7 separate regions of the Homo sapiens genome follow, and regions 2, 3, 4, 5, 6 and 7 are each linked to region 1. The links are contacts of gene promoters, found by promoter capture Hi-C in blood cells and fetal thymus (Javierre and others, 2016). All regions are on one chromosome and are shown on one strand. The core of a region is centred on a gene start or on the middle of the fragment in contact, and the rest is flanking DNA. Distances in the headings are between cores, read along the strand shown. Region 1 holds the start of IMMT (inner membrane mitochondrial protein). Region 2 overlaps TGOLN2 (trans-golgi network protein 2). Region 3 holds the start of MAT2A (methionine adenosyltransferase 2A). Region 4 overlaps LOC105374846 (a long non-coding RNA gene). Region 5 holds the start of VAMP5 (vesicle associated membrane protein 5). Region 6 holds the start of TMEM150A (transmembrane protein 150A). Region 7 overlaps RMND5A (required for meiotic nuclear division 5 homolog A).

Region 1 (3,560 bases), core at 533-3,032:
AAAAGTACAAAGAGCCTCATAAAGCAGCAATGTCAAATGCTACAGAATTAAGGAGATGGTGAGAATAAACCAAAGAATTTTACAAGACAGCAATTTCAAGAAGCTTAGACATCTTGATTCAGAGCTATAAAAGGGTTCATTTTTTATTACCAAGTTTTAATTAGTTTTCTTAATTCCCAAATGGGATCCCAAAAAGTTGACTCTGAATTAACTGAAAAGGAGGTCATCCAGGTGGGCCTGGTCTAATCACATAAGCCTTTTAAATCTGGGTCTAGAGAGGAAAGACCAAAGTAAAAGAAATTTGGAAGTCAGAGAGGCAAGCTCCTGGTAGCCTGCACGAAAGCAAACATCAATGTTATGAATGGCCTCTAGAGGCCTTGAGGCAAGGAACTGTAGGCAGGCTGTAGAAGCTGGGAGCAGTGGCTGGCAAGAGGCAGCAAGAAAAGAAGTACTTCAGTCCTGTAACTGCAAGGGACTGAATTCTGCCAACAAACTGCATGAGCCTGGAAGAGGACCCTGATCTCCAAATGAGAACCACAGCATGGCTAATACTTTGCAGCCTTATGTGACCTGGAGCGGAGAACACAGATCATCCGTGCCCAGACTTCTATCCTACAGAACCCGTAAGGTCATTCATGGGTGTTGTTTTAAGCTGCTAAATTTGTGGTATTTGTTACGCAGCAATAGAAAACTAACACAGGTTCGTTCCACTTTCCTATGGAAGGGGCTGCTTCTGTTACCTAGCAGCAAATAGGAAGAGAAGCGAACTTGAAAAAACAAAGCTTGACTTTTATGATCTCTAACTCACTATTCCTAGGGATTCTGTTCAATTACTGCTTGAGTCACAGTACTTGGTTTGCTATCTACATTTTGCCAAAATATCAACTTCCTGAAAATCATGAGCAGTGGAAACAGGCTTTTTAATTTTCAATTTTAGAAAGTAACTTTGGCAATTACGCAAAACTAGAAGTAACTGGGTATTTAGGCTCCTTGAATGTCAAAGTAGTCCCAGCGCCTGGAGACACAGATCCCTGCCCTAATCTCAGAAATGAGCCACAAGGTCATGACTCCTGTCTTTCCTTGAAGACCAGGAGTTTCAGCTCCACAAATGAAAATCTTTCGCTTTTGTTTGGATTAAGAATAACTCAGAAGTGTTCTCAGCTGCGAAAAGAAAGGCACTCCCTCCCAGATAATTACAACCTTGACCCCTAAAATGTGGACTCTCGCTAGAAGTCCAGGCACCTCCTTATTAAGGATGCAACAAGCCGCCGCTCCGCTCGTCCTGACGGGAACTGTAGTTCTCGCCCGTCGACCTTCAGCACTGAAAACCTATCGCGCGCCCAACCGGCGACCCAGACGCCAGCAGCCAGGATTGGTCCTGGACGGGGGCAGCGCGGCCCTGATTGGACTACATGCCCACGAAGCCGCGCCTCCCGCTACTCTCCACACCCCACCCCGCTGCTGCAATAACCTCAAGTCATCCCAGTCCGGCGAACTCCCTGGTGGCTGCCTAGCTGCCCGCCCGGGCCTCTCCCGACGAGGGTGGCCCTGAGGCTCGCCTTTGTCCTGGAGGCTAGGCAGCGACCAAGGCTCCCCCGTTTTTCGCTGACGGTTCTAGTTCAGCCTCCTCACGCGCCTCCGGGAGCCCCAGTGCTCACCTGGGCGGCGGCGGTCACACCCGATAACTGACAGGCCCGCAGCATCTCGGTCAAGCGGACGGCGCTGCTGGTGGACTCGAGCTGCCGCGGCGGCGCGAGTTAAGTGGAGGCGTGCTTGCGTGTGTGCGTGCCCGCGTCCGCGCCCGGCGCACCGGAAGCACAGCGGACGCCACTGCGCACGCGCGGCCCCTTCTACCGTCCCCGACTCCGCGGCTCTTAGAGGGTGGGCTGTGTCCCGGCTGCGGAAACGCCAACTCCAGGCGATTGGCGCGAAGGAGGCGAAAAGGGCGGATTCCCTTTCCGGGTCGCGCCCGGGCTGCAGGTCCTTATCCGGAAGGGGTTACTAGGTGAACACTGCCGGAGGGAGAGCGCTCTGAAATCCATTCTTCAGCCGCACGTGGAAAATGGACAGCTGTGACTCTTAAAGAGAATTAAAGCAACAAAGCATCTCAGCCTGCTCTATGAGCTGGATATTTCGTAGGAAGGAGCCGATTTGGCGAAAGTTACGTAAACAATGGAATTGTCTCAGTTTGCGCCTTTGTTTCGTTTGACAGCCCTCCAGGGAGTCATAGTGATTGCTGGAGACGGTGAACTAACACTGTGGGGACCCTTGTGCTAAACGTGTCAAGTGGCACAACAAGGATAGGAACACGGGTCCTTTGGACTCCACAGCTTCTGCTCCTTCCAGATTAAGCCACACTGCTTTCTCCAAGTTGTTACTGTAGTAACATCATTTTGGCTGCAGTTTGTGGATGGGTTGGAAGATGGGAAGTCAATGCAGAAGCACCGTTGAAAGTATTCCACTGGGCAGGGCGCGGTGGCTCACGCTTGTAATCCCAGTACTTCGGGAGGCCGAAGCGGGAGGATCGCTTGAGCCCAGAGGTTCGATACCAGGCTGGGCAACACAGTGAGACCTCGTCTCTATATAGAAAAATAAACAAACAAAAAATTTAAAAAGAAAAGTAGGGCCAGGAGCTATGACTCACGCCTGTAATCCCAGCACTTTGGGAGGCCAAGGCGGGTGGATCGCCTGAGGTCAGGAATTCGAGACCAGCCTGGCCAAAATAGTGAAACCCCGTCTTTACTAAAAATACAAAAAATTAGCTGGGCATGGTGGCGGGTGCCTGTAATCCCAGCTACTCGGGAGGCTGAGGCAGGAGAATTGCTTGAGCCCGGGAGGCGGAGGTTGCAGTGAGCCGAGATCACGCCATTGCACTCCAGCCTGGGCAACAAGAGCGAAACTCTGTCTCAAAAAACAAAAGTATTCCATTGATTCTGTAATCAAAATAAAACACGTTAAATATTAAGCATGGTATTAATACTCCATGTATACTCCAGAATTAATATGTTCGTATTAATACTATTAGCATCTTATTGCAATATCGTGGAAACTAACTTTTCTATCTTCTATTGGATTTGCAAAGTATTCCAAGTCTTAACTGGGTAATTTATTACAATATGTATTCTCTCTAGAGGTAGACTGCGCTATGACTTGTAGCATGGAGAGATGGACTTGAAAATTATCTGAAAGCAATAGTTATGTTTGTATATGTTCTATGTTCTATGGTTTTTAGGGGACTACAGTAATTACATATGTTTCATATCTCTTTCACTTAGCTTCCAGAGCAGTCTCCCGTTTTCTTTAGTAATTTTAGCAATTGAATTGCTGCCTCCCTGCCCACTGCTGTCATGCCCAGTGGTGCCGGTGTGATGACTTTTCTAACACCCTTGTCTTTGAACTTCTTAATGCCAGTGAACGCTTTCATCCTGCTTCAGTCATGTGGTGCCCGTGTGATGACTTTTCTAACACCCTTGGCTTTGAATTTGTCAATGCCAGTGAATGTTTTCATCCTGCTTCAGTCATGTACGTCACAGCCACAACTTGCGCCTGAACATCATTAG
Region 2 (3,560 bases), core at 321-2,820, 870 kb before region 1:
TAGGAGGTGCCTCTTGTGGCTCCACGTGCTTCTTACACACCACCCCCCAGCTTGAGCGATGCCTCAGCCAGCTCACCCTCATCCACACAATCGCTAGAAAACATGCTTCAAATATTCTATCTTTGAAAAGACACCATGCAGAAAATAAGCTTTCCTCTGATGTGCGGTATTTTCTTCAATGCTATTTCTTTCTTTTTTTTTTTTTTTTTTGAGACGGAGTCTCGCTCTATTGGCAGGTTGGAGTTCAGTGGCACGATCTCGGCTCACTGCAACCTCCGCCTCCCGGATTCAAGCAATTCTCCTGCCTCAGCCTATCTAGTAGCTGGGACTACAGGTGCACGTCACCATGCCCGGCTAATTTTTGTATTTTTATTAGAGACGGGGTTTCACCATGTTGGCCAGGATGGTCTCGATCTCTTGACCTCGTGATCCCCCCGCCTCGGCCTCCCAAAGCGCTGGGATTACAGGGGGAGCCACCGCGCCCGGCCTTTCTTCAGTGCAATTTCTAAAGAGAAACTTAAATCCTGTTGTATTCTTTCAACACAAGCAATGATACTTCTCAGAGTCTGCTCAAAAGCTCAGCTCTGTGGACTCCGTGACAAAATGTACGCGTCCACTGCCGACCCTCTTGGTTTCTGAAACCAACCTTTCTTCCTGCTCTCCTCTTTAAGAGCAAACCCCAACATGTATAAGGTCACAGCAAGTGGTAGCCAGGAAAAGCTGTGGGACCCCTCATTTGAGTCACATCCATATGGCATGGAGAAAGAAAACCTCTCTGCCAGAAGGAACTGAACTCTGGAAGTCCTAAGGAAGGTCACCATGATCAGCAGATAGGAAAGCATTGCCAAGGGCTGTCCCTCAAGAGCTTAGTTTTCTTAGGGAGACCAGAAAGACATCAGATCCTGACTGCCCTGTTTTGCTCAAGTTCTGAAATGAGTGGCATGATGAAGAGCTGGTGGAGCTGAGGGAAAGAGTCAACCATGTGGGGTGGGGTAGTGAGGAAGGTGTATGAGGAAACAAACTGGGCCCTGACGAAACAGGCGGATTGGGGAAGGAGAAAGAAGGAAGGGAGAGAAACCTAACCAAAGAAACATGGGAAGCTGGAAAGTCGAGGGCACAGCCGGAATAAAGGCACAGATGGGCACCCCACAGGAGGGGCCTTGGCCAGGTTGGGATGCAGAGAAAAACAGGCAGGAGGGTGTCAATCTATAGCATCCTGAACCCCAAAAGGTCTGTAACTGGATTCTCTAAGCCTTGAGAAGTTCACACCAAAGCTTCAGACCAGGGAAAATATTTTGGAAAGATCAGTCTTTCCAAGAGTGAGCTCCTTTCCAAGAAGCTGGACAGGAAACCCAATAAATGTGGATCTGAAAAAACAAAATCCAAGAGAGAAGCAAAATGGGCTGGGGGTGTGCAATAAGAGAAGCAAGGAAAATGGAAAGACTGTAGCTGAGGATCTTTTATTAAAAAAAAATGGATGGGACTTTGGTGATGAGAGAGAAAAAGGGCAAAAGTCTGCAGTTAGGAATTTAGGTGACCGAAGACTGTCCTAGACAGTTGGGAGGGACAGGCTGATGGACAGAAGAGAGAAATTCCTTTCAATGACAACCAAGCTGAACTATTCGATACCAGCAGAACTGGGTTCTTTAGGGATTAAGCCAAGACAAAGACTTGGGAATCACTCACTCCGAGGATGAAGAATGGGTTAATGGCTGAGGAGACAGTCAAAGGAATAGAGAGGCCTGGCTTTGAGGGCCTCTTCACCACCAGCACAAGATAAGGCAAAGGACCATTTGTCAGAGACACCAAGAAAGGGGAATTTCCATTTGGATGGTCAATAGTGTCCAGTTCTGCCAAGGACAAGACTAAGCTTTGAGAAAAAGCCATGGATTTGGTGATTGGATAACTGGTAACCTTTAGAAAAGTTTAGTTGACAGACAGAGACCGAAGTGAGTTAGTAAAAGTCATGAAGAGAATGAATGGCAACTTAAGGGAAGCAACATACTGGAGAAGTTGAGCAGCGGGATGAATAACAAATAGGACAGATGGGAACAGAAAAATCTGGGTGCATACGAAGGTGGATGGAAAGGAGCTGGTACAGATGGGCACAACCAGAAAACATGAGGAGGGGAAAGGAAGGGAAAAGGAAGGCAGGCAGGGAGAGAGACGTGAAATAGCCACAGTCTTAGGGGATGCTAGAGAAGCCTAGAAGATTCCTCAGGTTGGTGCAAAGTATTATAAGACTAACGCATCAGTACAGAGAATGACCCAAGAAGGGTAGGAGTTCATTCCTTACCTTCATAAAGTAGGCTATCCGCCAAGAATGAAAATGTCAACTCAAAGCTATGGGCTGTTTTAAGCAAGGTGGAAGATAATATAAGAAGCATGGTCCTTTCTTCAGACTTACTGCCTTGACAGCACAGAATTCATCTTATTTCCCTCATCTCCCAAGTTATTTGTATTTCCCTGAGATCAGCTCAGAAACAACTCTCTTTAGGCTCTCTACAATGCGGTAGAGCATGATTAGAAAAGATAAACCTTCAAACAATAGTGTTGTCCAAGACACTACCCTCACTTATCCCAGGGGAACCCACGGAATTTCTTCATTTGTATTAACTCCTGACATGGCATGGAAGAAGAATTTTTATCAAATACCCTTGGCATCTTATATCAGATTAAAGGACCATTAAATACACTGAGGTAAAATTGGCAGAGAGTATAGTTTCTATTAATAAATCTAAGTCTATTTTGTCTGTTTTAGGCAACAAAGGCAAAATGGACTTTGTGGGAAATGTATCTCATAAAAGCCCTTTGGAAAAACTGCAGACCAAAACCAAAACCCTCCTTCATGTTTTCTCGCATGAAACATAAACTTGCCCTATTTCAAAAAGTTCCTACTGAGTATGATTGTGTGAAAGATCACACTACTTCAAATCATATTTATTTTAAAAATCTGTGATGGGACAGTGGCCTCACTGCCAGGAAGCCCAAGTTCTGTTTTATGCTCGGTACAACTAAGTGGAAGTTGATTCACTTTGTCTCAAGCTACATAAAATAATCAGAAAATCAAGAAGATCTCATGCTAGACAGGTTAGACTTGCACCCAAAAAAGCATCTTTTTTTTTAACCTGCTGTTTTGGTTTGCTGCTGAAGTCTTTGAAGAGAATTATGTATTCAAAGTAGCTCTTTGCCCATTGGCATTTCCCCATCTTCTATGTCTTCTGTAGGGCACATCCCCCCCAAAGTAAGAGGCCTTAGTAGAAAAGCACTTCCACCTGCAGTTTTCCCCTAGGTCTGCAGAGAGAAACAGTGCAGAGTGCAATGCCACAGTCAAGGACCAACTTTCCTACAGAGCCCGGGCCCCAGGGAGGGTGGTCAGCAGCGCAGCCTGCCCAGGCTGGGATCTCCCTTTGGTCATAGCCGTGTTTCCATATACCCCTCCACTCACCCTCAGAGGAGGAACGGATGGAAGCCACCAGCATAAATAAAGGGAACACAGAAGAACAATGTCACCAAAGTGCAGGTGCAAAGCCCAAAGCAGCCCCCTACCTCTGCCAGCC
Region 3 (3,560 bases), core at 569-3,068, 660 kb before region 1:
ACTTTACGCTCCTTGTTCTGACTCCCTAATAAAATAACCTTCTAGTTATATTCTGGCTTCCCATATAGATTTTTCTGCTGGGAGATAATGCACTGACCAGCCTACACACGCATTTTGTTCCAGTTGACAATTTTATTACACATTGTAAGTTAATAAATTGGCATTCTCCTTTAAAAAATAACAAAAAAATTTAATAGTCTTATACAGTTACTTTCCCATGAAGGGTTAGCTTGAAAAGTAAAAAGCAACGAATAAAAATATCATCACCTATTGTCTCTTTTGTGGTCGAACCTTTTCTTGCTGCCTGCTTTGAGCGACCGTGGATGTGGTCACTGAGTCTGGGGAGGAGCCCTTTATCTTCTTTGTGGATGCCCCCAGCACAGCCCAAGTGCTTCCTTTGTTTCCCACTGAGCCTTTAGCAAATCCCACCTTTCCTCCTGCACCGACGGAGAGGATTGTTCTTGGGAATGCACCTTGTTCTACTGCCGCCAGCAGTAGGCAGCTGGAGACTGTTACTAGGGGTCTCCTTCACCTCCCCAGCGTAAAGTACATCCCATGCTAGGAGCAGGCCGTTCCCTGAGAACCTCATTAAACCCGGCGTTCTTGTCACGCGCTCCGCTCAGGGCCACCAGGCCACCAGCCCGACCAGACCTGCACCGAGGCCCAGCCCCAGAACAGGCTGCAGAGACCCCCGCCCCCAAGGCGGGCTCCCTCCAAACGGGACTCCATACTCCTTGCTGGCTCAAGTTTTGTTTCGCTCTTTTTCCCTGTAATTCCTTTATTGGGCAAAACTGGGACAAACGCAGGTGGACATTTTAAAGTGAAAGCTTCATGAAACAGCCCATTCCACGCCGTCAAGAGATCTGCTTAAGCACATTCAAGGGAACGAATAGCCCCCACCCACCAAAAAAGAAATGTTCGTTCCATATTCTCCTGAACAGAGGATTGAAACATCGATTCCCCCCCCCTTCAAAGGAACAGGAAGGCCACGGGGCAAGGACGGACTTGGGAGCGGCCTCCTTTCTCTCTGGAGGGAAAGGCTGGAGCGCTGCCTCCACTTTTAAGTCCACGAACCACGAAGGGTGAGGATCCCTCAGAAACTTTAGCGCAGGGGAGCGGGCAGGAGGGCGATTGTTTAAATCGATGGCAGCACCTTCATTAATCTGCTTTCCGGCCATCTTCAGCAGAGCCATTCACCAGGAAACGACTAGAAGGTGGGCCTGCGCCCCTCAGATATCCCGGGGCCGGCAACGAGCCGGGCAGGGACGCCGAAGGAAGGCCGTGAGGAGCCCTCGCTGGCCGGCCAAGATGGCCACCTTCACATGGCCGACCGCCACCGGCTCCCTGCCACCCGGCATCTAGAGGCGGGACGGCCAGAAAGACCCCAGCCGCAGCACAAAACCTCCGCGATTCCCGCCGCCTCCGCTGGGGGACGCGACCTCCGGGAAAGCTATCCCGGCCAACGGTCGGAAGGGAGGTGCCATGTCACCGCACAGGGGAGCGGGTCCAGCAAGCCCCAGTCGCTTTTTCTCCCACATCAAACAAGGAAGAGCAATCCCCCACGTCTCCTCGCGTCTGCATTTTTCTCCTAGCTCTAGCGGCTCAAGATAGCTGAACGGTCTCTGGAGGGCCGGATTGCCACGGCACCTCCCGCGGCCGCGCAGTGTGGTTCAGCCCGGACTCCGCGGGGCGAGCTGCCCTTCCTCCCCCGACCCCCGCGCAAGTGGTGCATTGGCGCGCGGCGCCGAGGGGCGGGGCCCGAGCCGGGCGCGCGCGGGCGCTGCTCTATAAATACCGGGCCGCACCGCCCGCTGCTTCGTTCGCTCCGCGCCGCCCGCCTGCTACGAGTAGAACGCTGTCCGCAGCTTGCGCATTTCGCAGCCGCTGCCGCCTCGCCGCTGCTCCTTCGTAAGGCCACTTCCGCACACCGACACCAACATGAACGGACAGCTCAACGGCTTCCACGAGGCGTTCATCGAGGAGGGCACATTCCTTTTCACCTCAGAGTCGGTCGGGGAAGGCCACCCAGGTGAGGGGACGGCCTGAAGCGAAGCGTGGGGCGGGGCAGAAGGCAGCGCCAAGGTCCGGCTGGCTGCGGCCGGCCGGTGGTGGGGCCCGCGCGGGTCGTCCTCGTCCGCCGGGTGATGGAAGAGCGGCGACCGCGCGCTTTCCTCGTGGCGCCGCCAGGGCCTGGCGCGTGGCCGCCGCTCCTCTTCCCCCTCCCCTCTCCACCCTTCCCTTCCCCCCTCCCTTTTCATTCGGTCGCGCGCCTAGGCATGCGGAAGGTTCCAGAAAACGTGAAGGGCGGGGGCTGTGGTCGCTAGTGAGTTCTGGCCGGGAAGGGAGGGCACTGTTAACCCCTCCCGGCCCTGCCGTCTGACAAACCTGGAGTGGGCGACCCGCCCCGCGTGCTCGCGTCCGGCCCTCGGGAGCGCGCGCCCCGCATTGCAGCGGCGACCACGTGTTTGCCGCATGTGGTATCTGGGCGAGGGGGAGCCGTGAGCCTCCCCGGCTGTCCTGGCCCTCAGTTTGAGGGGTGGGGGGCCTATGCCTTGGGACGTCGTCTGGCTCCACTGCCTCAGTGGTTAGGTCTTGACTACACACTGGAGAATACGCACATGCCCTTCGGCGGATATGGCCTTGCCTCCAAGGTGACGGCCTCTGACTAAATATAGCTCATGTCCAAGAAGGCAGTCCTTATTTGGACCCCTTGTGAAAAGGATGGGAAGCATGAATTAGGAGCTGCCATTGCTTTGGGTTCGCATTTAAAGTCTTCGGTGCAGGGTTTTACTTGAGGCTTTGTCCGCTCAACCGCCATTATGGGGATCAATTGGCACGTGAAGGAGGAGTAAAGCTATATTTCCAGGAACTGAAAATCTCAGCCTGAGCATATCGGCTAGTAAAGATGATTATTTGGCTCTTTTGGCTGTTTCTGCCCTTAGGATGACCGCAGTAGTTATCTATCTGGTGGCTTTAGGGTCTGGTCAGTTTACTGTGCCCATGATGAAATCCCACAAGTAACTTAGTGGTATGAGAGGACAAACCCAGGATCTTGATGAGTGCTGAAGGTTAGCTGTTACACCAGTTAGTAGTAGACCGAAGTTCAGAGCCTGCAGTCTGGCTTCCACATTATGTTTGGATTCTGTTTTAGGCGGTTATAGAAAATTCAGAAAAACGAACTTGAATTAGGGAGATATTTGTTCTCCCTCCTAACAATAGATGACAAAGCAGGGAGACATGGATTCGGAATACGTTTGAGCATCTTCTACACTGTTGAGCTTTTGTTTCCTGCGCAACTCCTAACAGCAAAATCAGATAATTGCCATTTTAGTCAGAAAATGCTTTTCATTTAATTGTTTAATCGAATTATCTTGTTGCTCATTATAATTGGTGTTCCTTAAGATTAGGGAAACTGGCCTACCTGTGGCCTCAGTTCTACCAGACTCCCAGGTGCAGAGGGGTTTGGTACAGTTGTGGAAGTGAATATGATATAGGGCAAATTCTGTTCTTTAAAGGATATAGGACTAACAGTTCACCTTTCTGGTGATTAGATTTATAAT
Region 4 (3,560 bases), core at 321-2,820, 610 kb after region 1:
CCTCCTGCCTCAGCCTCCCAAAGTGCTGAGATTACAGGGGTGAGCCATTCACTGTTCCTTGCTAAATCTTTTTTTTTTTTTTTTTTTTTTTTTTGAGACAGAGTCTCGCTCTGTCACCCAGGCTGGAGTGCAGTGGTGCGATCTCAGCTCGCTGCAAGCTCCACCTCCTGGGCTTAAATGATTTTCCTACTTCAGCTTCCTGAGTAGCTGGGATTACAGGCACACGCCACCATGCCTGGCTAATTTTTGTATTTGTAGTAGAGACAGAGTTTTGCCATGTTGGCCAGACTGGTCTCGAACTCCTGACCTCAAGTGATCCACCTGCCTAAGCCTTCCTAAGTGTTGGGATTACAGGCATGAGCCACCACACCTGGCCTAAATTTTTTTTTTTAATGAGTGAAGGAGTCCATAGTCTTTCATACTTTGGGGTGATACAAGAAAAGGAAAAAGGTTTAATGACAACTGCCACTTTCATTTATTCATTCCTTTGTTGATGTACTTTTGGGCTGGGTTTTGCTGTTATAAGCTAAACTACAATGGACATCCTTGTACACATTCCCTAGAGTCCAAGTACAAGATTTTCTCTAGGGTGTTTTCCTGGAAAAGGAATGACTTGAGGAGTATGGCAACCTTGTGAGAAATGACTGATTCGAAAGATGTGTCCCATAGCTTTTGATACATTTTTCTCCGAAGTCATGGTTCCAGTCCACACTCACACCAGCTGTGGAGGAGTTTTCATTTACCCACGAGCTTTGTTATTTCTGGTTTTGTCAGTCTTTTCAATTCTGCCAATCTCATAGGGTGTGATGGTATCTCGTTGTTTAAACCTGACTTCTCTTGTTAAGGTTGAGACCGAGCATCTGGCCCCATGTTTGCTGGCTATTCAGCTTTCCTCTTCTGCAGACTGCCCGTTTGTCCACTGCTCTGTTTCAGTAACTTCCATATACCAAGAACTCTCTGCCTTCCATAACTCACATCACTTAAAATACGAATTTTTTTGATGCTTAGAGAACCTGATTTCCTTCCAACCAATTGTGCTCTCCTAATTCCAACAACCAAATGAAGCTTCAACTCTTCTTTTTGTTCAGAGCCCTCCTGAGTCCTGTCCTACTCACAGTAAAGGCTGTGGCAAAATAAATAAATAAGTAAATAAAGGGGAAAAATACACTGCATCCAAAAAAGGCTCGTTTCTTTTTCTTTCTTTCTCTCTCTCTCTTTCTTTTTCTTTTTCTCTTGTTGTGACAATTGTCACAACAAAATGTGTATGTGACAATTTGTTATCTTAAAACAGTTTACCCAAAATAGAAACCTTACAAAGCCAGTGGAAACTTTTCTTTTTGCATAAGTTGGTTAATTCTTTTGAGTGCTGGCCTGGGATCCATGAAATAACCTCAACTCGACCATAAAACTTTTCACTCCCACGTTATGCAAACGGTGATGACCTTGTTGGTGGCAAGCCCCCCGTGTGACTTTCCGAGGGGATCTGAGTGGTGCAAGGTGGAGGACGCAGTGATGGAAACATTGCGAGAGGGAAGGCGTCTGTTTCCACCCACTTACCCTCAGAGCATGAGGGCTGGGCGAAGGCTCTGACTCCTGTAGGGGGTGACCCATTTCTAGGACTATAGAAGGAGAGGTGTGGACCTGGAAAAAGGAAGGAAAGACCACGGCAAGGAAAGTCAAGAAGTGGGAGAAGTCAAGGGCTCTCTCCTCCCTTCCTCCTTGTCCTTGGCCTGCAGCAACTCCTCTTTCTCTTTTTGTGGGGACAGACTGAAGAGGATTTCTTAGTATGGTTTGTACCTTCCCAGTAGAGCAGGAAAAAGAGGAACGAGCTGCTCCCTCCACACCTCAGACGCTGAGGTCAACTGCCCTTTGGGCGGGGCACGTTGGCTCACGCATCTAATCCCAGCACTTTGGGAGGCCGTGAGGGGAGCATCACTTGAGCCCAGGAGTTGGAGACCGGCCTGGGCCACATAGTGAGGCCCCATCCTCCGGCTTGCACCACTCAAATTCCCTCGTAAAGTCACACGGGGAGCTTGCCCCCAGCAAGGTCGTCAGTTTGCAAAACATGGGAGTGAAAAGCTTTATGGTGGAGTGTAGGTTATTTCATGGATCCCAGGCCAGCACCCAAAAGAATTAACCATCTTGTGCAAAAAGAAAATTTTCCACTACTTTTTTAAAGTTTCTATTTTGGGTAAATCGTTTCAAGATAACAAATTGGAGAGAGACCTAGAGAGAAATGAGCCTTTTTAAGATGCAGTTTATTTTGCCCCATGATGTTTTTGTTTTTGTTTTTGCCAGAGCCTTTACTGTGAGTAGGACAGGACTCAGGAGGCCTCTGAACAAAAAGAAGCGTTGAAGCTTCATTTGGTTGTTGGAATTGGGAGAGCACAATTGGTTGGAAGGAAATCAGGTTCTCTCAAAAAATAAAATAAAATAAAATAAAAAAAAAAGCCAGCGTGCTGGCGCGGGTCCATGGTCCAAGCTACTTGGGAGGCTGAGGTGGGGGGATCGCTTGAGCCCGGAAGTCGAGGCTGTAGTGAGCCGTGATTGCACCACTGCACTCCAGCCTGGGCGATAGAACAAGACCCTGTCTCTTAAAACAAACAAGAAACAAAACAAAACAAACAACAAAAAAATTCATTTGGGAATGTTTCTGCGCGTGCCCATAAGCAGAGCCATGCTATAGGATCTCCCCTGTGCCCCAACAATCAGCTTCTTACTTGGAGGGTAGAGAACGGTGCTTCCCCACGCTGCTGTGCAATGGATAGGAGCTATGTGAAGCTGGCGTATGGGTGGGGTTTGCAGGCTTCGTCCGGCTTCATCGCCGGCTGCTGACCCGGCACCAATTCCTGTTCTGCAGGTCTCACCGCAGAGGGGCACGCCAGCCATGAGGACAGATGAGGGAACACGTGATGCCACGATGGGGGTGCCAGGATGAGGTGGGTGCGGTCGCGGACAGGCGCACGAGGAGCCCAGCGGAGCGCCACCCGGAGCAGGCGCGGAGGAGGGCTGGGGAGGGCCACCAAGGCGACGAGAGCCGGTGTGCCTGAATCAGCCTAAAGGAGACGGAGGAGGAGTGTGGTGGGCGCAGGGGCAGGGAGCTGGGGGAAGGGCGGGGGGCTAGCCCAGGCTGAAGGCAGGCAGGAGCAGGGCCGCGATGTCAGACAAGAAACGGCAGCAGTGTGTTTGGGAACCTAGCACCAACCGCACCGGTGGAGACAGGGTCTGCTGTAGAGGAGGTGGGGCCGGGTCCCAGCTAAGTAAGGCGGTGGATCTTGCAGCCCTTCCATCCTCAGCCGCTCATTCTGCGCAAATCTCGGGGCCAGCCTTGGTGGAGCCGTAAAGCGTCCACCAGAACCTGGATCCCTCCGCCACCTTTCCCATGAATTCACCTTTCTGTACACAGCAAGCGCCTGAGCGGAGACGGCCGACACGTTTCCCACTGTTACCCCAGGAAACCGCGGCTCCTGAGGGGGTCAGGGCCTGGGCAGGGGGCAGAGCTCAGCGCGCCGTACTGAGGCAGAAACGGGGTCCAGAGAGGGTGGGGTGGGGGTACAGGG
Region 5 (3,560 bases), core at 655-3,154, 610 kb before region 1:
CTTCTGGGACTTAGCAAGGCCTCTGGGTCTCAGTTGTCCTGAGGGGGCAAGCATCTCTCCTTGGCATCCCATGGCTGGGCACAGTCAGTCAGTCAGTGTCACAGGACAGGGCCAATGGCTCTTCTTCCCCTCTGTGCACAATAAGCCTTTCTGTCTTCAGGCCCCCCTCCTCCCTACCAGGTTCCACCATCACTGTCACTTTTTCCAGTGCCCAGTCCGCCTTGGTTTGCAGGGAGGGTTCTTGCTATCTCTGTTCCTGTTTCCTCCACAGGCTTTCCAGAATTGGAAACAACCTGTTGTCAGGAAGAAGGGGAAGGGTTGAGAGTCAGGGTTTGGGACCAGATTGGCAAGTCAGGCTCTGGAAGAATCATGCTCTGAAATTTGGGGAGGGAGGAGGAAAGGTCAGAAAAGACCCTTGTGATATTTTTATTTTTATTTTTTCAGAGATAGGATCCCACTTTGTTGCCCAGACTGGAGTGCAGTGGTGTGATCATGGCTCACTGCAACCTCCATCTCCTGGGCTTAAGAGATCTTCCTGCTTCAGCCTCCCCTGTAGCTGGGACCACAGGTGTGTGCTACCACACCTGGCTAATTTTTGTATTTTTTGTAGAGACATGGTCTCACTGTGTTGCCCAGGCTGGTCTCAAACTCCTGGGCTCAAGCAATCCTACCACCTTGGCCTCCCAAAGTGCTGGGATTACAAGTGTGAGCCACTGTGCCCAGGCTTGGGGTAGTCTTTGCTACAACATGTTAATCCTCTCTCTCCTGGATTCAAGGTGTAAGGAACTGAAGTGAAGCTTCTGCCTTGGGACCCAGGCTGTCCAAGGTGGGGGTGAGTGTCTGTGAAACCCTCTTGGTCTGGGACTTCTGTATTCACAGAGGCTCAGCCCCAGAGAGGGAAACTTTCAATTCTGTTGGTCAAGAGAGGCCTCACTTGAGGGACCAGGCCCAGTGGCTCACACCTGTAATCCCAACACTTTGGAAACCTGAGGCAGAAGAACTGCTTGAGGCCAGGAGTTCGAGACCAGCCTGGTCAACATAGTGAGACCCTGTCTCTCTCAAAAAAAAAAAACAAACAAACAAAAAAAAAAAAACGAGGGACCTTATTTTAAGATGTCCGAGGCAGCTTGGAGTAGTGGAGAACAGGTAGCTGGTGGTTTCTCTGTAGCAGTGAGAGGACAGGATGGGTAGATTCGGCTCAGGAAGGCTCTGAAGTGGTAGTAGATACACCAGCCTCCCCCATCCTCTGACTGAGGAGCAAGTGCATGGCGGGTGCATGACAGCACAGAGCTGCACTTGCCCTCATGGTGAGGAAAGACATACAGAAAGGCTAGAGCTAGTACTTTGCCCATGTGGGGCTGCTTTCTTTTTGAATAGAGGTGAAAGTCACACAATGTACAGTTTGTTATTTTAAAGTGTACAGATCAGTGACATGTATTCAGAATGTTGTGCAACCACCACTTGTCTTTAGTTTCAAAACTTTTTGGGTGCCTGTTTTTGGTTCTGGGTGAGATGCACTCACCAGGGTGATAAAGACCCTGCCTGGCTTGTTCATGGCGTCTCCAGGACCTAGTATGGTGCCTGACCGTGGCACTCATAGGGTGTTTGTTGAGTGAATGAATGATGCCTTTTCAGCTGAACTCGAGCTAGAAGACTCCAGGGCTCACTCCACTGTGCCCATTCCACAGATCCGGCCCCGAGGTGTGCCCGTTCACCAGGCAGAGGTGTCATCCGAATTCAGGCTCCTGGGGCCCGGGAGGGTCCGACTCTACGGACCCAGGTCGCTGTGGCCCATCGCTTTCGATTTGACTTGGTTTCTGTCGCCACTCGCGGAAGGCGCGCCCCCCGCCCTCGCTCGGCGGCCCGCCCCGCCCCGCCCCTGCTCTTCCTCCGGGGCCGCTGGCACTGCGGCCGCTCCGCAGGCAGAGAAGCCGGGAGCGGGCGAGGCGGCGGCGGCAGCAGCGATGGTGAGGGCCCAGGCGGGGCCGGCCAGCCCTGCGACGGGCAGAGGGCGAGTGGCGAGGGTGGGAGAGAGGAGTCCAAAGTCCGCGGGCTGGGGCCTCCCCTGGGGCCCACGAGGGCCAGACCTGAGGCGGTGACCACTGCTGGAGCAGGACGGGGCGGACCCTCCACTCCCTGCGCGCCGCATGGGAGAGAAATGCGTGAGCCCCGTCCTGGCTGCACCGCGCAGAGCGAGCGGGACTCGGGCTCCCCATTCTCCTGAAGCAAAGCGGTTAAGAGCACCGACTTTGGAGTCGGACTCCGGGCTGGGATCCCAGCTCTGTGACCCGGGACAAGTCACTTAACCTCCCTGAGCCTCCTTTTCCGCGTCTGTGAAGTGGGGTCAGTAATACCTGCCTTGTTGGGTCCTTGCGAGGTTAAAGGAGCCACAGTGGCAGAGACCCGCCTGGCACTCAGAACCCACTGCTAAGAAGTGGTAGGAAATGTAACGACCTCGTCAGCCCTTTCCGCAGCTGTGAGGAGCCAAGCCTGGCTCAGGAGTTGGAAACTTGAGCAGATGGGGTGGCAGAGGCCATTCCAGCCCCATGGCAGGGTGTTGGAGGGCGAACTCCTCCCCTAGAGAAAGAGAAAGGGAGATGTTTACTCTGAAAGTTCCACTGAAGTTATCAGTGTATGGCACAGGCCTGACTCCCTGCTAACCTCTACCTAGTGACACATTCCTGAGTTGAGTCATCCCCACTCCTGCTGCAGATCCTGGCCTTTGTCCTCACTTGCCATCTCCAAGGCAAAGATGTCAGGAACAGCTGGTGCCAGTTTCTCCCTTTCCCTAGGGCTCCTGGGAAAATGGACTGGGCAGGAAGTAGGCTTGGTGCTTTAAGATTTTGCCTTGGAGAAACTGACAGAGGTGTGATGGATGTGGCCTGGCTAGGGGTCAATGCCTGGATGGCCTTATCTCCAGGGAACTTGGAGGCAGGAAGAGGAAGTGGGGCAGGAAGGTAGCACTGAGCTCTGAGGCCAGGCCAGGAAGCTGAGGAAGGCTCTGAGAATAGGGCAGAGCCCAGAGCCCACTTAAGGGTGTGCAGGGCAAGGGGTCAGGCAGGGGTAGGGGTGGGCTTCAGCCGGCCCTTAGCTCTTTGGGAGAAGCTCCTGAAGTGAAGGCTGAAGGCAGGATATTTTATTGGGGGAGGAGGATACTGGGAAACCTGGGGATTCTCACGGGTACATTTGAGGCAGTCTGTGGAGGAGAGGCTGGGGAGGTCGCTCCTCCACCCATCCATCTCCTAGCCTCTTCCTGTTTCTTCTTTCACTCTTGCCCCTTTAGCGCTTTCCTTCCTTCCACCCATCCCCTTTCCCTCCCTGGTCCTTCTTCCTTTCACTTTTCTTTTCTTCTCTATGACTCATTCAACCAACAAGGATTTCTTGGAAATGTCCTTCATGCCAGCATGGTGACAAGTATAGGGGACAGAGCAGGAACAAAGCAGTGATGGGAAAGATGGAAATGGAATGAATAATTACTTGAATTCATTAATCTTGTAGATGATCCTCTCTCCAAAGAATGTGTGTGTTGAGCCACAGGCCTCCCTCATATGCACACAAAT
Region 6 (3,560 bases), core at 476-2,975, 590 kb before region 1:
CTGGGAGGCCCTTAGATCTCCCTGACCGGCCCAATGTCCAGGCCTTACCTGATGAGGGGGACATCGTCCAGGGTGCAGCAGGTCTTGGGACCCCCTTGCTCAGCAGGGTCAGGAGGGCAGGACTCGTTGTAGGACCTGGCAGGCAGGACAGGGAGTAGACTGGGGGAAGGGACTGCCCCCAGGCCCTTGGCCTATAGCCTCAGGCCTCAAAGAGGACTCTCTCCCAGACCTCCCCTACAGGGACAGAAGATCCCACTCCCCAGTGCCCGCCTGAAGCAGTAACCAAAGGGGCAAAGGGATAGTGGGAAGTGGGTAGGTGGCAAGAAGCCATGCCTGGGGACCAATTTCAGAGAAGAGCAGTGAGGCTCAGGGTTGCAGTCTGGCTCGTGGCAGCCTCAGGCCCAAGAGGGGACAGAGATGAAGGAAGCTTTAGAGCAAGGTTGTCTGCAGAGTCCTTCATACCAGTTCTCCACAGGGCATACATGGTGGTTCATCACAGCCATGGCATACCTGTGGGAACAGAACTGTCACCCTGGCAGCCTTCCCGAGCCCCACTCAACCCACCCCATGACCCTTCTCTTCAACCTTGATTTCTGGCCCCATTCAGCCTCATTATTGTTGCTGGGGACTCAAGTTGAGGTCCCTAAGGCTTGATGCCACACCAGCACCTGCAGCATGCCCCCAGCTACAGGCCCTCTGGAAATTGCCCTGGCTAGAAGTATATTTGTCAGGGCCACCCTGCTGGACAGCAGTGGTGCCAGCTTGTCCCAAGGGGCTGTGTGCCCAGGCACCAAGTCAGGCTTTTGAGACACCCAGAGTGACCCTGGGTACCACCGTGGCTATGACAGGACAAGAGACTTTGTGTGCGTCATCAAGCTCCTGTTGCCCCCCGGGCACCCCCCTTTACTCACACAGTCCATATGCCAGTGATGGAGAACGCTGACAGGCTGACAGGCAGGAGGATCCAGGCGGTCATGAGGGAGGGGAGCCAGGGTGGTGGTGGTGTTGGGGGGAGGACAAGAGGTAGATGGGGAAGTGGGGGCGGACCAGCTACCTTGAGATGTTTCTGCCACAACCATCAGCTGTCCTGGCCTGGTGGAGAGAGATCAAAGTCCAGGAGTGGGTAACTGGCCGGGAAGGGGGAGGGGAAGGGGGTCAACACCTTATCCAGCGCTCCCGTTGGGTCTCTGAGCGTCCAAAGTTTGGGCTGAGCCCACGGCAGAACGTGAACACCCTCTGGCACTGGGGGCCTCCGCGGTCAACCCAAATGCCACCGGCGTGCTGAGAGACGCAGGCGGACCGTAACATCTGGAAGGGAGTTACCCTCCTTCTGAGGGACCAGGGCTGGGAGAAGGGCTGGACAACCGAAGAGGCCACGCCAAGGAGAGGCTGGGTGCCGGCCCAGTGGAGCGGTGGCGAGTCGGCGGCGCGCAGGCAACCACCTGACCATCGGCGCCCTGGGCGAGGGGCGGGTTCACGCGGAAAGCCCAGCCCGGCCCGGCCCCCGCTCGCCTGGGCGCGGGGACCCCGGCTGGGGCCGGACCCTGCGGCCGGCGACCCCCCAGGACCCGGGACGCGAGAGTCCCCAGGTGATTCCTGGAAGCCCGGAGGAAGGGAAGGAGCCCAGTACGCACCTCCCCGGAGCGCCCCGCCGCCGCCGCACCCTGCTCGGCCCCCTCGTGGCGCCGACTCTAGCTGCGGCCCTCGGAGCAGCCCTGAAAGGTTTAAAGGGCCGAGCGGCCCCGCCCCTGGAGGCCCCAGGCCTCGCCGCGCCGCCCGCCGGGACGTGGAGTCCGCGCAGCCCCGGCCTCGGTGCCCGCGCCCTGCCCGAGACTACAACTCCCGAGCCCCCGCGCCCGCGTCACGGGGGAAACGTGGGCGGTGTCCCAACTTCGGAGGACCTGGGCGCGGAGGGCTGTGGCGTGAAGACCGCTCTAAAACCGAGATGACTAGAGGTTCCGTTTAACCGATTCCTGCCGGGGAAGCGTCAGCAGGTGGGGATCTCGGGGCAGCCTGCATTCCAGCTCTACCTGGGATTGTCGCCGTGCACATGGCTGGAGGAGCGTCTCTCCGCCACTGCGCACATTTTGCAGCCTGCACCGGCCAACGGTGAGTCCTCTAGGAAGCTCTCTCAACGTGGCGCCCCATGCCTGCCTCTGGCCAGGGCTGCGGTGGGTCCAGAGAAGCAGACACAAAGACTTGGCTGTTTCTTAAGAAATCCAAGCGCCTGGGATTTGGCTTATGGTTCCTGTGGCTCAGCAAACTCCGGAGGAGGGCTGCTTTCATTAGATACTTTTTGCTTTCCTGCATACAAGTACACAATGTACTAGCCAGAAATCAGTGTCCAAGACGTGTTTCCCGACTGATCAACACTTATTTGAAATAAGACGGCAGAGACCAGAGGACATCCATTCTAAATAGACACATGTAGGTGTCAGTGTAGAGTAGGTAAGGATTAACATGGCCAGTGTTGGTAAGCAAAGAGGGGAAGGTGAGAGACCCGGAGGAATCTGGGAAAAGGAAACAGGATAGTGTGGGAAAAATTACTGACCAGCTTCACCAAAAACTTACAGGCTATGAGTGCATTCCTGGATGTTTCTTTTTTTTTTACTTTTTCTTTTTCTTTTTTTTTTTTTTGAGACGGAGTCTCGCTCTGTCGCCCAGGCTGGAGTGCAGTGGCGCGATCTCGGCTCACTGTAAGCTCCGCCTCACGGGTTCACGCCATTCTCCTGCCTCAGCCTCCCGAGTAGCTGGGAACTACAGGCGCCCGCCACCTCACCCGGCTAATTTTTTTGTATTTTTAGTAGAGACGGGGTTTCACCATGTTAGCCAGGATGGTCTCGATCTCCTGACCTCGTGATCCGCCCGCCTCGGCCTCCCAAAGTGCTGGGATTACAGGCGTGGGCCACTGCGCCTGGCCCGGATGTTTCTTAAATTATTGCAAGGGTGGAAATACTTTCACATATCAGAAGTGTGCCTGGCATTCTGTCTCAAAGGCGGTCCCAGCATCTGTTGGAGCCCTTGTGAGATGACAGATCATCACCTGAATGGTGCACAGGCGCAGGTTGCCCAGCGTGGGGAGCTGAAGTTTGGCAACACTGGTGAGGCAAAGGCTATGTGAAACAACAGGGTCCTGTGCTTTAGAGAAGTAGAGCAGAATAAACTGCACAATGACTTGAAGAGGGAGAAACCTTCTTGGACCCAGTGGAAAGCAGAAATGGAAGCAGAAAACCTGTTGGAGAGCCCTTTTTCTTTTGAGACAGAGTTTCACTTGTTGCCCAGGCTGGAATGCAATGGTGCAATCTCGGCTCACTGTTACCTCTGCCTCCTGTGTTCAAGTGATTCTTGTGCCTCAGCCTCCCGAGTAGCTGGGATTACAGGTGCCTGCCACCATGCCCAGCTAATTTTTTTATATTTTTAGTAGAGACGGGGTTTCACCATGTTGGTCAGGCTGCTCTTGAACTCCTGACCTCAGGTGATCCGCTCGCCTTGGCCTCTCAAAGTGCTGGGATTACAGATGTGAACCACCGTGCCCAGCGGGAGAGCCCTGTCCTTAAACA
Region 7 (3,560 bases), core at 789-3,288, 580 kb after region 1:
ATTTCTGTTTTATTGGTGATTATACGAGACTTCTAATACATAAATGAACGGGTATTGGTGCCTCTTTATTTTAAAAAATTTGAAGAAAAGAGCCACCTCATATTCATAGGGTGTGTATTTTTTGAGTGTGAGCATTTAATTGAAAATAAGAAAGCTATGAAGTAAATGTTAACTTCTCTGTAGCAGCTAATGCATAGAGACACTAAAACCCACACCACATTTTGTGGGAAATGAGGATCCTGATCCTCTTTTGTCCTCTCCAGGTAGTCTCGCAGGTTATGCAGCTTAAGTTCAGTCTTCTTTATGCTGCGATTGATTTCCACCTCAGTGGCTTAGCCTTTGGGACAGTGGATACTGCAACAGCCAAGAACTCTTGGTTATCCGCACAAGCTGCTGGTAGACTACATTAGCCCTCTGGTTTTCCAGCTCAACCTCTGATAAAGTGGACTGAGAGCCACGCTGCTCAGTCTGTTTCGTCAGCCGACTCAGGTTATTTTCAGGGAAGGCATGGAGGCATAGTTTGGTTAGTTTCATCACTAGGATGTATAAGGTGACGACACAAACCAAATACCTTTCTTTCATCACTTAACTATACGTACTTTATCTCTGGTAACACTAGAATGCTGTGGTCTTGAGGGAATGTTAGCAAGGAACACATAGAAGATTTGGTGTTTCATAAGCCTGTCTAGGTGTGGCAGGTTTTGTGTGGTACACTGATGTTTACCATAAGCAGGTACAAGCTTCATGAACCGTTCTTAATGAACTATAATTGAATAGATACCAAAAATAGAATGACAAATGTATTTTAATAGCAGATGAGGCAGTTTTAGGATGAATTTTCCACTGTTGATTTTACTTCAAGACATAGCAAGAGAAACAAAATTTTGTTTTCAAGACATTTCCACTGCAGTTTCAAGCTGTAGTGGGCATATGCTTCATTTACTTCCAAAGAGGCAAAAGCAGCTGGAATTGGCTTACAGCACATGCTTTGTTTCATGTTATGGGTGAGGACCTACATACACTCTTACTTTAGCAGTCACTTAACCTTCTCCAGCAAGGCAGTTGTGGGGTTCACTAGGATTTAGTGCCTGATCTTTTTTTTGGGAAGGGGCGGGAATGAATGTGTTGGGGCTGGGAGGGAAGCAGAAGAAAATGGGAGTGTGAGTGAGTGTGCATGTGTCTGAAGTTCACCATTGCCCCCACCTGCACCTAGCAAGGAACAGGTGTTTGATGTATTTTGCTCATGACTGCAGTATGCATGTATTTTTTTCCTTCTCTGTGTTTTCTAAACTTACACTAAAGGATTCATCAAATCATCTTGTTCAGATGGCTCAGGATTGTATTTATTTTGCTTACCCCGTGCTCTTGGGTTCTATAGTATTTCTATAATTATGTAACGAGAATAGTGTTGCACTGTAATCTATCATATAGAGCTATATGTATGGAAAATTTTGATCAATTTTTTAAGAAATGTATCCTGTTTGCAAAGGCACAGTAAAGTTGCATCTTATAGACTATAGGCAATAAAGCTAACAATAAACCTTATTTAACACAAACCACATCCATATCCTCTGTTCATTTGATTTTGGAAAAAGTAGCATATCCAGTAGTTTCAGGGAATTCATTTTAACTTTAAGAATTCTGATATATTTAATTTATAAATTTCGGACTGATATAATAGAGTTTTGGAAAACTATAAGAAATGCTTTGTTAATGTGTGTATTCCTATGTAAAACACATGGCTTTTCCTGTGTATATTTTTAAAAATTAAAGAAATGCACATTTAAAAAGTGTTTTGTGGAACCAGTCTGTATAAATGTGCCAGGTGACAAAGGTATGAGGGAGGGAGTAGGGAGGTGCTGACTGTGAGAAGAGAAAATTGCTGTCTGTATTTGCTAAGGGTCTGCATGTCAAGAATTTAAGAAAATATCTGTCCCCATCTTACTGTGTTTCTGTGCCACCAACAGTGAGAAGAGAAGGTGACTGAGCAGTGTCCCGAGTTGTTTTTTGTTGTTGTTTTGAGACAGACTCTCACTCTGTTGCCTGGGCTGGAGTGCAGTAGCCCAATCTCGGCTCACTGCAACCTCCACCTCCTGGGTCCAAGCGATTCTCGTGCCTCAGCCTCCCGGGTAGCTGGGATTACAGGCATGTGCCACCATGCCCAGCTAATTTTTTTTTATTTTTAGTAGACAGTGTTTCACCATGTTGGCCAGGCTGGTCTCGAACTCCTGACCCTCAAGTGATCTGCCCACCTCAGCCTCCCAAAGTGCTGGGATTACAGGCGTGAGCCACTGCACCTGGCTGAGTCCCGAGTTTCTGAGTAGGGGATTGTTTTAATGTTTCCAGGCTGCTGCCCCCTCTCGCCCCTCCTGTGCACAGCGGGGACCCTGCCCTGTGTACTGACCAGAGTGGCAGTGAGTGTATGATTGGTAAAGTGGAGCCCGGAAACAGCTCGATGTCCAGGCTGCTGGAGGGGGTAGAACTTGTGCTGTCAGCATTACCAGGGAAGACCAGAAACTGAATTGCCTTGTCCTCCATGGCAGGCCAAGGTTGTAGAGACCAAGCACTTATTTGTACTCCTTTTGTATATTTTTTAAGAGAAAGACTTAGTGTTACCTGAGATTTTAGAATGTTTCTTACCTATGGAAACCCTTGTGGTCCCATCCAGTCAGGTTGGAGCTAGTGGCCCAGGTAGTATAGAAGAGGCCTGGCAGGCCAGGCCAAGGTCTCACCACCTTTCCCTCCAGCATTTGGGCTCCTCAGGACTCAAAGTGTGGTCCATGGACCAGCAGCATCAGCATCACCTGGGAGCCTGTGAGAAATGCAGAATCTCAGGCCTCAGCTCAACCCTGCTGAACCAAAGTCTGCATGGTCATGAGAAAACGGGCTTCCCTTATAAGGAGTGTCCTGGATGCTTCCTATTTCAGGAAGTATCCTCCCTCTTAAATGTGGCAGGTCAAGATCACACGTACTGAACAGAATTTACCCTTGAGGACTAAGGGTAAATCTGTTAGTCATCAAGAAAATTTAAATTTAGTGTGCTTTGAACTCTAGTTATTTTAAAAATCAGTGTATTTCTTTAAGCATCTAGGTAATTGAGGGAGTACTGTATTTGCAGTATGGTAAAAAGCATTTTCCACCCCCTCCACCAAAATGGGGAAGGTGAGTGTCAAAGATGAAAAATAATTTTCATAATGACAAAATAAGGACTAAAAATGCATCCTTAAACAAAACAGCTTGATGCTTCTTACCCCCCAGCAGAGAAACTTGATAATAAACAATATCCCAGCAGAAAATAGGCTTTCTTAACTTTTCTTTTTCCTTCAGCACCCAGTAAGAAGCTTAATAGCATAACCCTGTGTACACAAAATTTAGAATTCTGAAATATTTTACAAAACAATATTTAGTGCTACAAATGTGTGATTTTATTTTTAATGCTCACCAAGACTGATTTGATTTTGTGACCTGCTAATGAGCCAGTTTTTACAACCTTGCATGACGGGACAATGATGCAGTGGTCCACTTACCTACCAAACTTCTTTGAAATCTGTCAATATATC

What was found. Contacts are between HindIII fragments. The CHiCAGO score rates a contact against its expected background, and 5 or more counts as called.
Region 2: a fragment that was not itself captured here is called in contact with the fragment with the promoter of IMMT in region 1 in 1 of 17 cell types (monocytes); the score reaches 5.4 in monocytes.
Region 3: the fragment with the promoter of MAT2A here is called in contact with the fragment with the promoter of IMMT in region 1 in 1 of 17 cell types (erythroblasts); the score reaches 5.2 in erythroblasts.
Region 4: a fragment that was not itself captured here is called in contact with the fragment with the promoter of IMMT in region 1 in 1 of 17 cell types (fetal thymus); the score reaches 5.1 in fetal thymus.
Region 5: a contact is called between the fragment with the promoter of VAMP5 here and the fragment with the promoter of IMMT in region 1, in 8 of 17 cell types (fetal thymus, monocytes, neutrophils and 5 more). The highest score is 10.4, in fetal thymus.
Region 6: a contact is called between the fragment with the promoter of TMEM150A here and the fragment with the promoter of IMMT in region 1, in 1 of 17 cell types (erythroblasts). The highest score is 6.6, in erythroblasts.
Region 7: a fragment that was not itself captured here is called in contact with the fragment with the promoter of IMMT in region 1 in 1 of 17 cell types (naive CD8 T cells); the score reaches 5.0 in naive CD8 T cells.

The regions. Positions count from the first base shown.
Region 1 is chr2:86,193,680-86,197,239 of GRCh38, forward strand. IMMT (inner membrane mitochondrial protein) reads right to left here and starts at 1,783. Exons shown (of 15, transcript NM_006839.3): 1 at 1,659-1,783. The coding sequence starts at 1,703. RefSeq lists enhancers at 1,284-1,333, 1,454-1,633, 1,654-1,773. The HindIII fragment of the contact is 5,542 bases long and covers 781-3,560 here.
Region 2 is chr2:85,318,987-85,322,546 of GRCh38, forward strand. It overlaps TGOLN2 (trans-golgi network protein 2), which reads right to left. Exons shown (of 4, transcript NM_006464.4): 4 at 1-3,560. Among named protein-coding and RNA genes, the nearest start is that of TGOLN2, 7.2 kb to the right of the region's middle. The HindIII fragment of the contact is 596 bases long and covers 1,273-1,868 here.
Region 3 is chr2:85,537,350-85,540,909 of GRCh38, forward strand. It overlaps MAT2A (methionine adenosyltransferase 2A), which reads left to right and starts at 1,819. Exons shown (of 9, transcript NM_005911.6): 1 at 1,819-2,029. The coding sequence starts at 1,939. PARTICL (promoter of MAT2A antisense radiation-induced circulating long non-coding RNA) reads right to left here and starts at 1,537. Exons shown (of 1, transcript NR_038942.1): 1 at 118-1,537. RefSeq lists enhancers at 737-826, 1,227-1,436, 1,507-1,596 and silencers at 1,627-1,896, 2,077-2,406. The HindIII fragment of the contact is 3,815 bases long and covers 826-3,560 here.
Region 4 is chr2:86,804,727-86,808,286 of GRCh38, forward strand. It overlaps LOC105374846 (a long non-coding RNA gene), which reads left to right. Exons shown (of 3, transcript XR_940321.3): 2 at 2,861-2,939. It also overlaps a transcript of CD8A not described here. Among named protein-coding and RNA genes, the nearest start is that of CD8A, 16 kb to the left of the region's middle. The HindIII fragment of the contact is 1,014 bases long and covers 1,064-2,077 here.
Region 5 is chr2:85,582,527-85,586,086 of GRCh38, forward strand. VAMP5 (vesicle associated membrane protein 5) reads left to right here and starts at 1,905. Exons shown (of 3, transcript NM_006634.3): 1 at 1,905-1,967. The coding sequence starts at 1,965. RefSeq lists an enhancer at 1,582-2,537 and a silencer at 1,827-2,176. The HindIII fragment of the contact is 4,352 bases long and covers 796-3,560 here.
Region 6 is chr2:85,600,973-85,604,532 of GRCh38, forward strand. It overlaps TMEM150A (transmembrane protein 150A), which reads right to left and starts at 1,726. Exons shown (of 8, transcript NM_001031738.3): 1 at 1,635-1,726; 2 at 912-1,092; 3 at 463-510; 4 at 49-135. The coding sequence starts at 976. It also overlaps a transcript of USP39 not described here. RefSeq lists silencers at 1,196-1,255, 1,356-1,935. The HindIII fragment of the contact is 3,378 bases long and covers 426-3,560 here.
Region 7 is chr2:86,776,249-86,779,808 of GRCh38, forward strand. It overlaps RMND5A (required for meiotic nuclear division 5 homolog A), which reads left to right. Exons shown (of 9, transcript NM_022780.4): 9 at 1-1,793. Among named protein-coding and RNA genes, the nearest start is that of CD8A, 13 kb to the right of the region's middle. The HindIII fragment of the contact is 2,601 bases long and covers 739-3,339 here.